Regions from separate parts of the Homo sapiens genome. Here all the other regions are linked to region 3. The links are contacts of gene promoters, found by promoter capture Hi-C in blood cells and fetal thymus (Javierre and others, 2016). All regions are on one chromosome and are shown on one strand. Each heading gives the region's core, a stretch centred on a gene start or on the middle of the fragment in contact. The rest is flanking DNA. Distances are from core to core; before and after follow the strand shown. Region 1 holds the start of FUT7 (fucosyltransferase 7). Region 2 holds the start of ENTPD2 (ectonucleoside triphosphate diphosphohydrolase 2). Region 3 overlaps LOC107987143 (a long non-coding RNA gene). Region 4 holds the start of RNF208 (ring finger protein 208).

The links. The method cuts DNA at HindIII sites, captures the fragments that hold promoters and counts their contacts. A CHiCAGO score of 5 or more calls a contact.
Region 1: the fragment with the promoter of FUT7 here is called in contact with a fragment that was not itself captured in region 3 in 10 of 17 cell types (endothelial precursors, activated CD4 T cells, naive CD4 T cells and 7 more); the score reaches 9.7 in endothelial precursors.
Region 2: the fragment with the promoter of ENTPD2 here is called in contact with a fragment that was not itself captured in region 3 in 1 of 17 cell types (non-activated CD4 T cells); the score reaches 5.5 in non-activated CD4 T cells.
Region 4: the fragment with the promoter of RNF208 here is called in contact with a fragment that was not itself captured in region 3 in 2 of 17 cell types (endothelial precursors and naive CD8 T cells); the score reaches 6.3 in endothelial precursors.

The regions. Positions count from the first base shown.
Region 1 is chr9:137,030,775-137,033,521 of GRCh38, reverse strand. FUT7 (fucosyltransferase 7) reads left to right here and starts at 1,434. Exons shown (of 2, transcript NM_004479.4): 1 at 1,434-1,543; 2 at 1,797-2,747. The coding sequence starts at 1,531. LINC02908 (long intergenic non-protein coding RNA 2908) reads right to left here. Exons shown (of 3, transcript NR_171031.1): 2 at 291-1,524. RefSeq lists an enhancer at 1,290-1,399. The HindIII fragment of the contact is 19,925 bases long and covers 1-2,747 here.
Region 2 is chr9:137,052,811-137,055,746 of GRCh38, reverse strand. ENTPD2 (ectonucleoside triphosphate diphosphohydrolase 2) reads left to right here and starts at 1,686. Exons shown (of 9, transcript NM_203468.3): 1 at 1,686-1,866. The coding sequence starts at 1,750. It overlaps LOC105376327 (a long non-coding RNA gene), which reads right to left. Exons shown (of 2, transcript XR_930455.2): 1 at 2,872-2,936; 2 at 2,372-2,737. RefSeq lists silencers at 1,451-1,530, 1,631-1,700. The HindIII fragment of the contact is 4,509 bases long and covers 1,565-2,936 here.
Region 3 is chr9:136,766,566-136,769,506 of GRCh38, reverse strand. It overlaps LOC107987143 (a long non-coding RNA gene), which reads left to right. Exons shown (of 3, transcript XR_001746981.2): 2 at 1,358-1,746; 3 at 1,833-2,941. Among named protein-coding and RNA genes, the nearest start is that of LCN15, 3.5 kb to the right of the region's middle. The HindIII fragment of the contact is 474 bases long and covers 1,205-1,678 here.
Region 4 is chr9:137,220,774-137,223,673 of GRCh38, reverse strand. RNF208 (ring finger protein 208) reads left to right here and starts at 1,434. Exons shown (of 2, transcript NM_031297.7): 1 at 1,434-1,685; 2 at 1,936-2,900. The coding sequence starts at 2,462. RefSeq lists silencers at 182-531, 842-891, 1,832-1,881. The HindIII fragment of the contact is 9,789 bases long and covers 1-2,900 here.

The DNA.
Region 1 (2,747 bases), core at 185-2,684, 260 kb before region 3:
AGACCAGCCTGGCCAACATGGGAAAACCCCATCTCTACTAAAAATACAAAAATTAGCTGGGCGTGGTGGCAGGCACCCATAATCCCAGCTACTTGGGAGGCTGAGACAGGAGAATCACTTGAACCCGGAAGGTGGAGGTTGCAGTGAGCCAAGATCGCACCACTTGATCCTGACTTCAGGTGATCCACAAGCCTTGGCCTCCCAAAATGCTGGGATTACAGCCTGGGCGATAGTGCAAGACTCCCTCTCAAAAAACAAACAAACAAACAAACAAACAAACCAAGCCTGACCTGCATTGAGATCTCCAGGACGTCTGGGTCTGGCCACGCCTGGGACCACACAAGGTCCCGTGCAGCAGAGTGGCAACGTGGTTGGGTGAAGAGGCTGATGGGGCCTCCCACTGTGGCTGAGAGTGGGGTGTTGGTTGGCTGGGGCTCAGGGTGACCCCGCAGGGCCATCCCAGCCTGGCTGGCACCCAACGTGGGCTGGTGTAGAAGAAGGAACCTGGCCTCCAGGCTCCAGGCCCTGGCTTAGAGGGAGCGGGGAGTCTGGACTTCAGGCTGGATCCCTTCCTCTTCCTGGAGCGGGTGCTGGCCCCCAACCCGCTTGCGTCAGGGACAAAAGGACTCCTTCCCTTTCCAGCCTGGAAAGCCCCTCTGCTGCAGGCTGGAGGAAGGGACCCTGGGCCCAGCCTATAGTCAGCGGTGTCTATGGGCATGGATCTGGACGGGGAAAAGGACAAAGCAGCCTCCATCCACAGTTCATTCCGGGACCAGGCCCTTGCAGGCACGCGCTGGGCTCCTGTGGGAAGACACTAAGGGCCCCAGGACAGACCTCCTCTCCGGGCATCTGGGTTCCTAGATGGCAGAGGTGGCAGAGTGGGGTGGGATGGCCCAATTGGGAGCTTTAGCTTCCGGCAAAGAGCTGAGCACAGTACATCTTCAATGTGTAAGATTCTCCTGGGAGACCAGGGCCCAGCTGGTGGTGAGCTGGGGGAAGTGGGTGATACTGCCGTGGGAGGAGCCACCTGGCCCTCTGGGGAAGTGCACTCGCTGTCTGCAGCGCCCAGGCCTGGGTAGCTGGGTGGGGGCTGGGGGGCCATCTGTGCTCAGGGTGCCTGCACCTGGGCCTTCTCTGCCCTGGGCCAAGCCTGCCCGAGCCTCTCTGTCCTCTGCCTGCCCAGCTGGACATCTCTGGGCCTCTCTGGAGACCAGTGGGGTGGGCTGTGGGGGCGTCATATTGCCCTGGCTTGGCATCCCTCTTGTGGCTGTACCCCTCCCAGCAGCCCCAGGACTAGCAAGTCCCCGAGATGGGGGTGGGGACAGTGGTTGATGCCAAAGGTTGTGGGGGCAGGGGCGGGGCAGGAGCAGGAAGGTCCCCTGAGTTCCCTCACCTTGGGCAGAGATAAAAGGAGCACAGTTCCAGGCGGGGCTGAGCTAGGGCGTAGCTGTGATTTCAGGGGCACCTCTGGCGGCTGCCGTGATTTGAGAATCTCGGGTCTCTTGGCTGACTGATCCTGGGAGACTGTGGATGAATAATGCTGGTGAGTGTCTGGCCCTCGGGGAGGCCCAAGCTGGGGACAGCTAGGCAACCTGGGAGGGGAGGACGGGGGTGGCGCTGAGTGGGGCATGTCGGTGTCCCTGAGCCCATGGGAGGGGAGGACGGGGGTGGCGCTGAGTGGGGCATGTGGGTGTCCCTGAGCCCATGGGAGGGGAGGACGGGGTTGGCGCTGAGTGGGGCGTGTGGATGTCCCTGAGCCCAAGTGACAGAGCCTCCCCTCCCTCGTGCTGCTGCAGGGCACGGCCCCACCCGGAGGCTGCGAGGCTTGGGGGTCCTGGCCGGGGTGGCTCTGCTCGCTGCCCTCTGGCTCCTGTGGCTGCTGGGGTCAGCCCCTCGGGGTACCCCGGCACCCCAGCCCACGATCACCATCCTTGTCTGGCACTGGCCCTTCACTGACCAGCCCCCAGAGCTGCCCAGCGACACCTGCACCCGCTACGGCATCGCCCGCTGCCACCTGAGTGCCAACCGAAGCCTGCTGGCCAGCGCCGACGCCGTGGTCTTCCACCACCGCGAGCTGCAGACCCGGCGGTCCCACCTGCCCCTGGCCCAGCGGCCGCGAGGGCAGCCCTGGGTGTGGGCCTCCATGGAGTCTCCTAGCCACACCCACGGCCTCAGCCACCTCCGAGGCATCTTCAACTGGGTGCTGAGCTACCGGCGCGACTCGGACATCTTTGTGCCCTATGGCCGCCTGGAGCCCCACTGGGGGCCCTCGCCACCGCTGCCAGCCAAGAGCAGGGTGGCCGCCTGGGTGGTCAGCAACTTCCAGGAGCGGCAGCTGCGTGCCAGGCTGTACCGGCAGCTGGCGCCTCATCTGCGGGTGGATGTCTTTGGCCGTGCCAATGGACGGCCACTGTGCGCCAGCTGCCTGGTGCCCACCGTGGCCCAGTACCGCTTCTACCTGTCCTTTGAGAACTCTCAGCACCGCGACTACATTACGGAGAAATTCTGGCGCAACGCACTGGTGGCTGGCACTGTGCCAGTGGTGCTGGGGCCCCCACGGGCCACCTATGAGGCCTTCGTGCCGGCTGACGCCTTCGTGCATGTGGATGACTTTGGCTCAGCCCGAGAGCTGGCGGCTTTCCTCACTGGCATGAATGAGAGCCGATACCAACGCTTCTTTGCCTGGCGTGACAGGCTCCGCGTGCGACTGTTCACCGACTGGCGGGAACGTTTCTGTGCCATCTGTG
Region 2 (2,936 bases), core at 437-2,936, 290 kb before region 3:
AGACCTCCCACTCCCTGGCTTGAGCTTTTTGTCCATGAAAAGAGTCCAGAACACCAGGAAGCCCCGCTGGGCCTGGAGGGAAGCGGGGTACCGCAGGCCAGTGGGGGTCGCAGCACCCTGCCTCTGGGCGGCCTTTGTTCCTTCCTTTTCAGGCATGATGTGCACTGTGCGTGCCTCTCCCTCCTCTGGGCGGTCAGGGGTGGAAGAAAGGCCTGGGGTGTGTGGGGGGAAACTGGGGCCTGGGGCCTGGAGCTTAGCACCGGCAACACCCAGAGATTGCCTGCTGGAGCCCCGCCAGGCTGGGCTGTGAGGCTGAGGCAGCAGAGAGGCTTCCCAGGGTTCCCACCCCTCCCTTTGGGGTCCTGAGCTGGAAGAAAGATGCCTTTACTGGGCCTGTGGCGCCAGACCCTCAGCCCAGGCAGCAATCCCAGCACAATTGTCACTGCCCGTTCCAGAAGGCCGGGCATGGTCTGGACCCTGCCCCATGGGGCTGCCCTTTGGGCCCCAGCAGCCTGCACTCCCTGGTGGCCTTGCCTCGTGGCTCCCTGACGCTGTGTGGCTGGAATTATTGGGACAAGAATTCCCACTTTGCAGCAGGCGCAAAGGGGGTGGCCCCTGGCCGGGCTGGGATGCGGGGCCTGTGAGGCTGCAGAGCCGAAAGGCCAGCCATGTCGTGGGACGGAGGAGCAGGGCTTGCGTCTGGGGCCAGCTGCGCTTCGCCTGCCCCAGCCGTCCCCAGAAGCCTGTTGCTGACCCGCACCCCAAGCTTGGCCTGGGGACCCTCTTCCTTGCCTTTCAGGCCACGTAGAGGCCCCACCTGTTTCCGTCCTGGGGAAGCCTCCTCTGGCCTCCGCAGCCCAAGCCTCTGTTCCCCTCAGGCCGAGGGGGCAGCAGGCGCGGCTGAGGCCCTGGGCTGGGAGGTATGGACCTTTGGCCCGGTCTGTGCTGCTTCTCCTGTTTCTCGGCTCGGTGTGACCTGGGCCGTCCCTCCCCTTCCCCGTTCCTGCGTCCTCACCTTCACCTCAGTACAGGGCCCAGGTGAGGTGGATCTGACTGGGCCTCAAGGGTAGTTCTGGCCTGGGTCAGCTGCGTGTCTCTGGAGCTGACCTGCGCTGGCTCAGCGCCGCAGGCTGGCGGATCCTTGCTGGCCGGGAGGGCATCCCGCAGGCCAGCCTGGTCCTCACCAGCCCTGGGAGTTGGCGCTCAGGGCCCTGCTCCACAAACAGGTGCTGACCCTCGGCTTCCTCCTGAGTCCCCAGCCCGGGCCCCGCGTGGCTCCGCAGCCGACAGTGCCTCATTCCTGCAAGCGAGTCTGGCCTCCTTTCCCGGGCCCGGGAAAAGCGCGGCTCTCCAGCACAGGACCCTCCGAGCCAGCCTCGCCCGCCCACCCCCACGCCAGGTCTCCTGCCTCCACGGCCGGGGGATCCCCTTGCTGAGTGGGCGGGAAGGGGAAGGTGGGCCATAGCCGCGGGGCGCCCGGGCTCAGACCCGGGAGCCGGGGGGCGGTGCTGGTGACTCAGCCGCGCCCGCGTCTCTCACCTGCGCGGGCCGGACGGCGGAAGCTTGGGAGCGGAGGCGAAACCTGTCCGCCCGTGGGCGTGGCCGGTGATGGGCGGGCCCGCCCGGCCTCCCGCCCCTCGTCCCGCCCCGGGGCCCCTACCCCGCGGTCCCGCGGCCCCGCCCGCCTCCGCCTCCGGCTCCCCGCACTCTCCGGGTCCACGCATCGTCCTCCCGCGCGCCCGCCCGCCCATGGCCGGGAAGGTGCGGTCACTGCTGCCGCCGCTGCTGCTGGCCGCCGCGGGCCTCGCCGGCCTCCTACTGCTGTGCGTCCCCACCCGCGACGTCCGGGAGCCGCCCGCCCTCAAGGTGCGCGCCCGGGCACCCAGCGCACGTCTGGGGAGCAGCGGGCCGGGCTTGGAGCCGGGGAGGGGGTGCGGCTGGGAACCTGAGCAGGATCAGCCCGGGACCCCCACCGTGCTCTGCTCCTGGCGGGCTGGGTGGGGTCCCGGGTTCCGCGCTCTGCGCTCCCCGACCGGGTACGCGGAGGGGGCGGGGGGCGGTGGCGCTTCCAGGGCGACGCGGTGCTGAAGGAACAAGTCCCGGGAGTTCCGCGCCCGCCGCCGAGTCCGTCAACGCAGCCCAGGGGCTGTGTCCCCGCTCCCGGGATAGCCCAGCGATGCCCCCTGGGTGCTGCCGGACGCCCGCCCCCAGGCCTGTGCGGGCCCCCAGGGGCACTCCGGGCCACTTCTGCCCTGTGCCGCCGCCCCGGAGGGTGCGGTTAGAGCCACATCGACTGGGTATTCAGCCCAGATGGGGATCCACAAGCCCCAGGACCCAGGGCCCCCGCCAGGACACGAGAGTGGCCCAGAAAGACAGGAGGGCTTGACCGGAGCAGCCCTGGCCGGTCCTCAAAAGGTTGGAGCAGGCTAGCCTGGATCTCCACTCCAGCAGGCCCAGGGACCTCCTGGTCGGCCCCTTTAACCCTTTATTGGGCTTGTAGGGGGGTGGGGTGGAGAGCCAAGTCCCCCAGCCTGATGGGGAGTCAGAAGCAGGGAGCTCTGCGGCCCTGCAGGACGGCCATGTGGCGGTGCACGCGCTGACCTGTTGATGCTCTGGGCTCTGGGGAAGCCTTGGTCGGGATGGACTGGTGCGGCCCTCTCGGAGGCTGGAATTGGCGCCCGGGCCTGGGAGGCTGGTCCCCAGCTTTCCAGGTGGATCCAGGATGCTGGGGCAGGAGCTGGAAAAGGGCATTTACAAGCTCGTGCCACTCAGGTCTGCAGGAAGGCCCACCCAGCACCCCCAACAAGGCAGGGCCAGCCTCTCTCTCTGGCCCTGGCTTGGAGGCCTAGGGAGAGTGTCTTTAGAGCTGACCTGGCTCTGAGGCCCACGGCCAGCCTCGGTGGACCTTCTTCACCTGGGGCCCTGCCTCCTGCATC
Region 3 (2,941 bases), core at 192-2,691:
GGGGGGGCAGTGCATGGGGGGTGTCGGGGTGTCGGGGGGGGCAGTGCATGGGGGGTGGCGGGGTGGCGGGGGGGAAGTGCATGGGGGGGTGGCGGGGTGGCGGGGGGGGCAGTGCATGGGGTGGTGGCGGGGGGCAGTGCATGGAGGGGTGGCGGGGTGGCGGGGGGGCAGTGCATGGGGGGGTGGCGGGGGGCAGTGCATGGAGGGGTGGCGGGGTGGCGGGGGGGCAGTGCATGGAGGGGTGGCGGGGTGGCGGGGGGGGCAGTGCATGGGGGGGTGGCGGGGGGGGCAGTGCATGGGGGGGTGGCAGGGTGGCGGGGGGGGGCCGTGCATGGGGGTTGGGGTGGGAGGGGACTGAGCTCTGAGAAAGGACCCCAGTTCACTATGTCAAAAACGAAAAAAAGGCAAGGCGCAGTGGCTCACGCCTGTAATCCCGGCACTTTGGGAGGCCAAGGAGGGCAGATCACCTGAGGTCAGGAGTTTGAGACCAGCCTGACCAATATGGTGAAATCCTGTCTCTACTAAAAATGCAAAAAAAATTAGACGGGCATGGTGGCTACTGTTATCCCAGCTACATGGGAGGCTGAGGCAGGAGAATCGCTTGAACCCGGGAGGTGGAGATTGCAGTGAGCTGAGATTGCACCACTGCACTCCAGCCTGAGTGACAGAGTGAGACCCCGTCTTAAAAAACAAAACAAGGCCAGGCACGGTGGCTCATGCCTGTAATCCCAGCACTCTGGGAGGCTGAGGCAGGTGGATCACAAGGTCAGGAGATCGAGACCACCCTGGCTAACATGGTGAAACCCTGTCTCTACTAAAAATACAAAGAATTATCCGAGCATGGTGGTGGACGCCTGTGGTCCCAGCTACTCCGGAGGCTGAGGTGGGAGAATGGCGTGAACCCAGGAGGTGGAGCTTGCAGTGAGCCGAGATTGCGCCACTGCAGTCCGCAGTCCCGCCTGGGGCGACAGAGCGAGACTCCGTCTCAAAAAAAAAAAAAAAAAAAAAAAAAAAAAAGAAAAAAAAGAAAAAAGAAAAAAAGAAAAGAAAACGAAGAAAAACCACAAATAAATAAAAGTTGAGGTATGATGTATGCACAGCTGCATTCGCCCCTTTGAGGGCACAGTTGTGTGAGTTTAGACAAATGCAAATGTTCATGGAACCACTGCAAGTGCGACACAGCAGCTCTGGTGCCCACAAAGCTTCCTCGAGGTCCCTTGCGGTCAATCACTGCCCGCACCTCAGCCCTCAGAGCCACTGGGAAGCCCCCTGCCCTGTGGGCTCACCTGTCCTAGAACGTCGTATAAAAGGAGTCGCAGATCGCAGCCTTTTCCACCTGGCTTCTGTCCCTCTGCAGGGTGCACCTGGGATTCAGCCACCTTCGTTCCTTTTACTGCTGAGTGTCCATCACGTGCTGCTCATGCAGAAGTGCTCAAGTTCGCTGTAAACGTAGTTTTCATTTCTCCCGGGTGGAGACCTCCATAAGTAGGTAGGTTGGTGGAATGTTTCACTGCATGAGAGTCTGCCAGGAAGTTTTGCAGTGTGGTCCCGTCTTGTTCTTCCCGCAGAGGGTGATAGCTCTGCTGACTCCCAGCCCTCACAGGCTCTAGGGATTGAGCCTGTTTCTGTGGAACGCCTTCCATGGTCTGCGAGGTGCACAGAGGGGTCTCAAAAAGCTTCCAGGTTGCATCTTCCCATGGACTGATGCTGAGCGTGTTCTCATCTCCCATCCGGATGTTTTCTTTGGTGGAGTATCTTTTCAGATCTCTTGCCTTTTTATTTTTATTTGTTTATATATATATTTTGAGACGGAATTTTGCTCTTTCACTTAGGTTGGAGTGCAACGGCGCGATCTTGGCTCACTGCAACCTCCCCCCACCCACCTCACTTTGGGTTCAAGCGATTCTCCTGCCTCAGCCTCCCGAGTAGCTGGGACTACAGGCGCCCGCCACCATGCCCGGCTAATTTTTGTATTTTGAGAAGAGATAGGGTTTCACCATGTTGGCCAGGCTGGTCTCGAACTCCTGACCTCAGGTGATCCACCCGCCTCGGCCTCCCAAAATGCGAGGATCACAGGCGTGAGATGCCACACCTGGCCTCTTTTTATTTTTAATGGAGTGGCTTGTTTTCTTATTACTCAGTCTTGGGAGTTCCTCATGGATGCTGGATTTCAGTCTCGTCTCAGGTGTATGCGTTTTGTAGATGTTTTCTGTAGGGACCAGCCCCACAGGGTTGGTGAGTTTCTCCCTGTGTGCTGAGATGAGAGGGCATAGAAATAAGGACACAAGAAAAAGACATAAAAGAAAAGACAGCTGGGCCTGGGGACCACTACCACCAAGACGTGGAGACCGGTAGTGGCCCCGAATGTCTGGCTGTGCTGATATTTATTGGATACAAAGCAAAAGGGACAGGGTAAAGAGTGTGAGTCATCTCCAATGATAGGTAAGGTGACGTGAGTCACGTGTCCACCGGATGGGGGGCCCTTCCCTGTTTGGCAGCCAAGGCGGAGAGAGAGAGAGAGAGACAGCTTACATCATTATTTCTGCATATCAGAGACTTTTAGTACTTTCACTAATTGACTACTGCTATCTAGAAGGCAGAGCCAGGTGTACAGGATGGAACATGAAGGCGGACTACGAGCGTGACCACTGAAGCACAGCATCACAGGGAGACGGTTAGGCCTCTGGATAACTGCGGGCAGGTCTGACTGATGTCAGGCCCTCCACAGGAGGTGGAGGAGTAGAGTCCTCTCTAAGCTCCCCCGGGGAAAGGGAGACTCCCTTTCCCTGTCTGCTAAGTAGCAGGTGTTTTCCCTTGACACTGACGCTACTGCTAGATCACGGTCCGCTTGGCAACAGGTGTCTTCCCAGACGCTGGCGTCACCACTAGACCAAGGAGCCCTCTGGTGGCCCTGTCAGGGCGTAACAGAAGGCTCGCACTC
Region 4 (2,900 bases), core at 185-2,684, 450 kb before region 3:
CTCCCTGCCTGCCACTTGAGTGGCGCCTATGGCGCATGCGCAAACAAGGCAGGAACCGGCCGTGGAAATATTATTGCCCAGAAGCCCACGCGCTCCGGGGTTTCCCGAAAGACCCGGTTCGGATGTGACCAATACTCGGCTTGGGGTTCTCCAGCTCTGAATGGCGGGTCTGAAAAGGCCTGGCCTGGGGGGCGGGGCCTCGTGGCGGGGGCGGGATCTCATCCCCTACGGGGTGGGGTCTCGCTGAGGGGGCGGGGCCTGCGGCCTGGTGCTTCCTCGGGCGCACGCCGGGTCGGTGAGCAGAGTCTGCGGCGGAGCTGGGCTCCCGGCCCTCCCCAGGCCCAGGCTGCCTCAGTTGCCCCACCATCTTGCCAGGGCCCCGTAAGGACCCCTCCAGCAGCGCCCCTGTCACCCGCACACCTCTCCCTATTGCTCTTCTGAGTGACACTCGCCCGAGGCCCCACAGAGGGGCCAAGCCAGACCCTATGCGCAGGGCTGCTCCTCCAGCCTGTTTTGCCCACGCGAGCTCCCGCACCAGCGGCACCGTCCCCTCTGGGCTCAGCACTCTGCAGGCCCTGGGGCTCTGCCTAGAGCAGGTGCGGTCTGGCCAGTCCAGCGGAGAGAGGAGCTGAAGGAGGCCAGGATGTCCAGGGCCAGGTGCGGGGCCAGAGCTGGTCACAGCGTGGCAGCGGAGGCCCTCGAAGCCCTGGTCCCCTGCCTCACGGTGACCAGCAAGCCCGAGGGCTCCACAGGCAGAAGGCGGACCCAGGAGGGCAGGGAAGCCCCGGGTGAGGAAGCGGAGAGGCCCGGGCCTGCGCGCTGGAGTGCCAGGGGCCACCCTGTCCGGGCAGGTGCGGTCCTCAGGGCCGCCTCCACCCCGCACTGGGCTGCCAGCCTGTCCTTCGCGCACTCCCACCGGACCCGTCCGTCCACCGGCCTCGGCCTTCTGATCCGCTCCGCCCGCCCCGCTCTTGCCCCTTAGAGTCACAGCGATCTATCTGAGCTACGGCACCGGGCACAGGCGGAGCTGGAGGACTCGGGGCCTTCCCATGGGGCGGGGGGCCGGGGACGGGGGAAGGCACCGGTGGGCCCTGGAACCAGCTCCCCTGGGATCCTCCGCGCAGGTCCCCTCCCTCTCACTCCAGAGTCCTGAGGCCTCCTACTGTGAGGGAGGAGAACAGCCGGATTCTCCTCCTGAATCTGGGGGGGCGGGGGCTTGACCAGGACCCAGGATCAGCCTGGAGAGAACTGGGGGCGACGCGGGGGTCCTGCCCCCCACGCAGTCCGCGGGCGAGAGCGACGCCGGGAGCGGACCGAGGGGCGGCCGGGAGGCTGGCCCCGCCCCGCGGACCCCGCGCGGGTCCCCAGACGGGGGGTGGCGCTGCGGGCGCGGGCGGGCGCCGCGCGCACTGCGGTCCCCGCGCCTCCGCCGCAGAGCGCGCCACGCTCCGCACGCACCTGCCGCCGTCGCCGCCGTGCCGAAACCCGCGCCCCGCGCCCCACGCCCGCGCCCGCGCCCCTCGGTGCCGCCCGGGCCCCGCCATCGCCTGAGGTCGCTGCGGCCGCCGCCGGAGCCGCCGGAGCCCCCCGAGCTGCCGGGCCGAGGCGCGGGCGCCGCGTCCGGGCCTGCCTTTGAGACAACCTCTGCGGCGGCGGCGCGCGGCCGGGACGCCAGGCTGGGGCAGGTGAGCGCAGGGGGCGGGGGCCGGGGGCGGACTCAGCGCCCCTCCCCACGCGACGGGGGTCGGCCCTCGGGAAGGTGCGTCTGGCCTTGGAGGCGGGGACCGGGGAGGGGGTTGGGTTCTGAGGCCCGCGGAGGTCGGGATCCCACGGCTGAGGTCAGGGTCAGAGGTCGGGCGCCCGGTCCTTTGTGCAGGGCGAGGGCTAGGGTGGGGGTGGCCGGGGCACTGCCCTCATGCCGTCTCTCACCTGCAGCTCAGGCCTGGCCCAGGCCTCGCCTCTGCTCCTGCCGCGGAGCCTGCCGCCCCGGTCCTCCTGCAGCCAGCGCTTCGGCTAGCTGCCTTCCCTGGGCGCCCTGTCCTGGAGCCATGGGGCCCACCCAGCCCCTGCCTGCCCCGATGTCCCGGCCCGCGGCCTGCTGACCTCGGCTGCAGGGGGAGCCCCCCCCGCGCCCCCTCGCCAGCCTCAGCAGCCAGAGACCCTGGGTGAGACCCTGGGCCAGACCCCCAGCCCAGGGCAGCCTCCCACCCCTCCCTGCCCCCGCCTGCCTCCCCCTCCCCCACCCCTTCCTCCTCCTCCCAGGACTGGACCAGAGAAGCCACTGTGGCCACTGGGGGGGGCCCTGCACCCCCAACTCTCGCCGGCTGTCCCTAGGAGTCCACGGGCCGTCCGGGGCCCCCCCCAGGCCTGGCGGGACCAGGATGCTGCCCTGTCACCTGCCCCCCAGCCCCACACAACGCCCCCACCCACCCGAACATCCAGTCTGACTGGAGACAGCCGGATGCCCTCTGACCCCGGGCCCGAGGCGGGCAGTGGCTGGCCGGGCCTCCTCATGTCCTGCCTGAAGGGTCCCCATGTCATCCTCAAGATGGAGGCCATGAAGATTGTCCACCCTGAAAAGTTCCCTGAGCTACCGGCTGCCCCCTGCTTCCCGCCTGCTCCCCGGCCCACCCCAACTCTGGCACCCAAGCGTGCCTGGCCCTCAGACACAGAGATCATTGTCAACCAGGCCTGTGGGGGGGACATGCCTGCCTTGGAAGGGGCACCCCATACCCCGCCACTGCCACGGCGGCCCCGTAAGGGAAGCTCGGAGCTGGGCTTTCCCCGCGTGGCCCCAGAGGATGAGGTCATTGTGAATCAGTACGTGATTCGGCCTGGCCCCTCGGCCTCGGCGGCTTCTTCGGCGGCGGCAGGCGAGCCCCTGGAGTGCCCCACCTGTG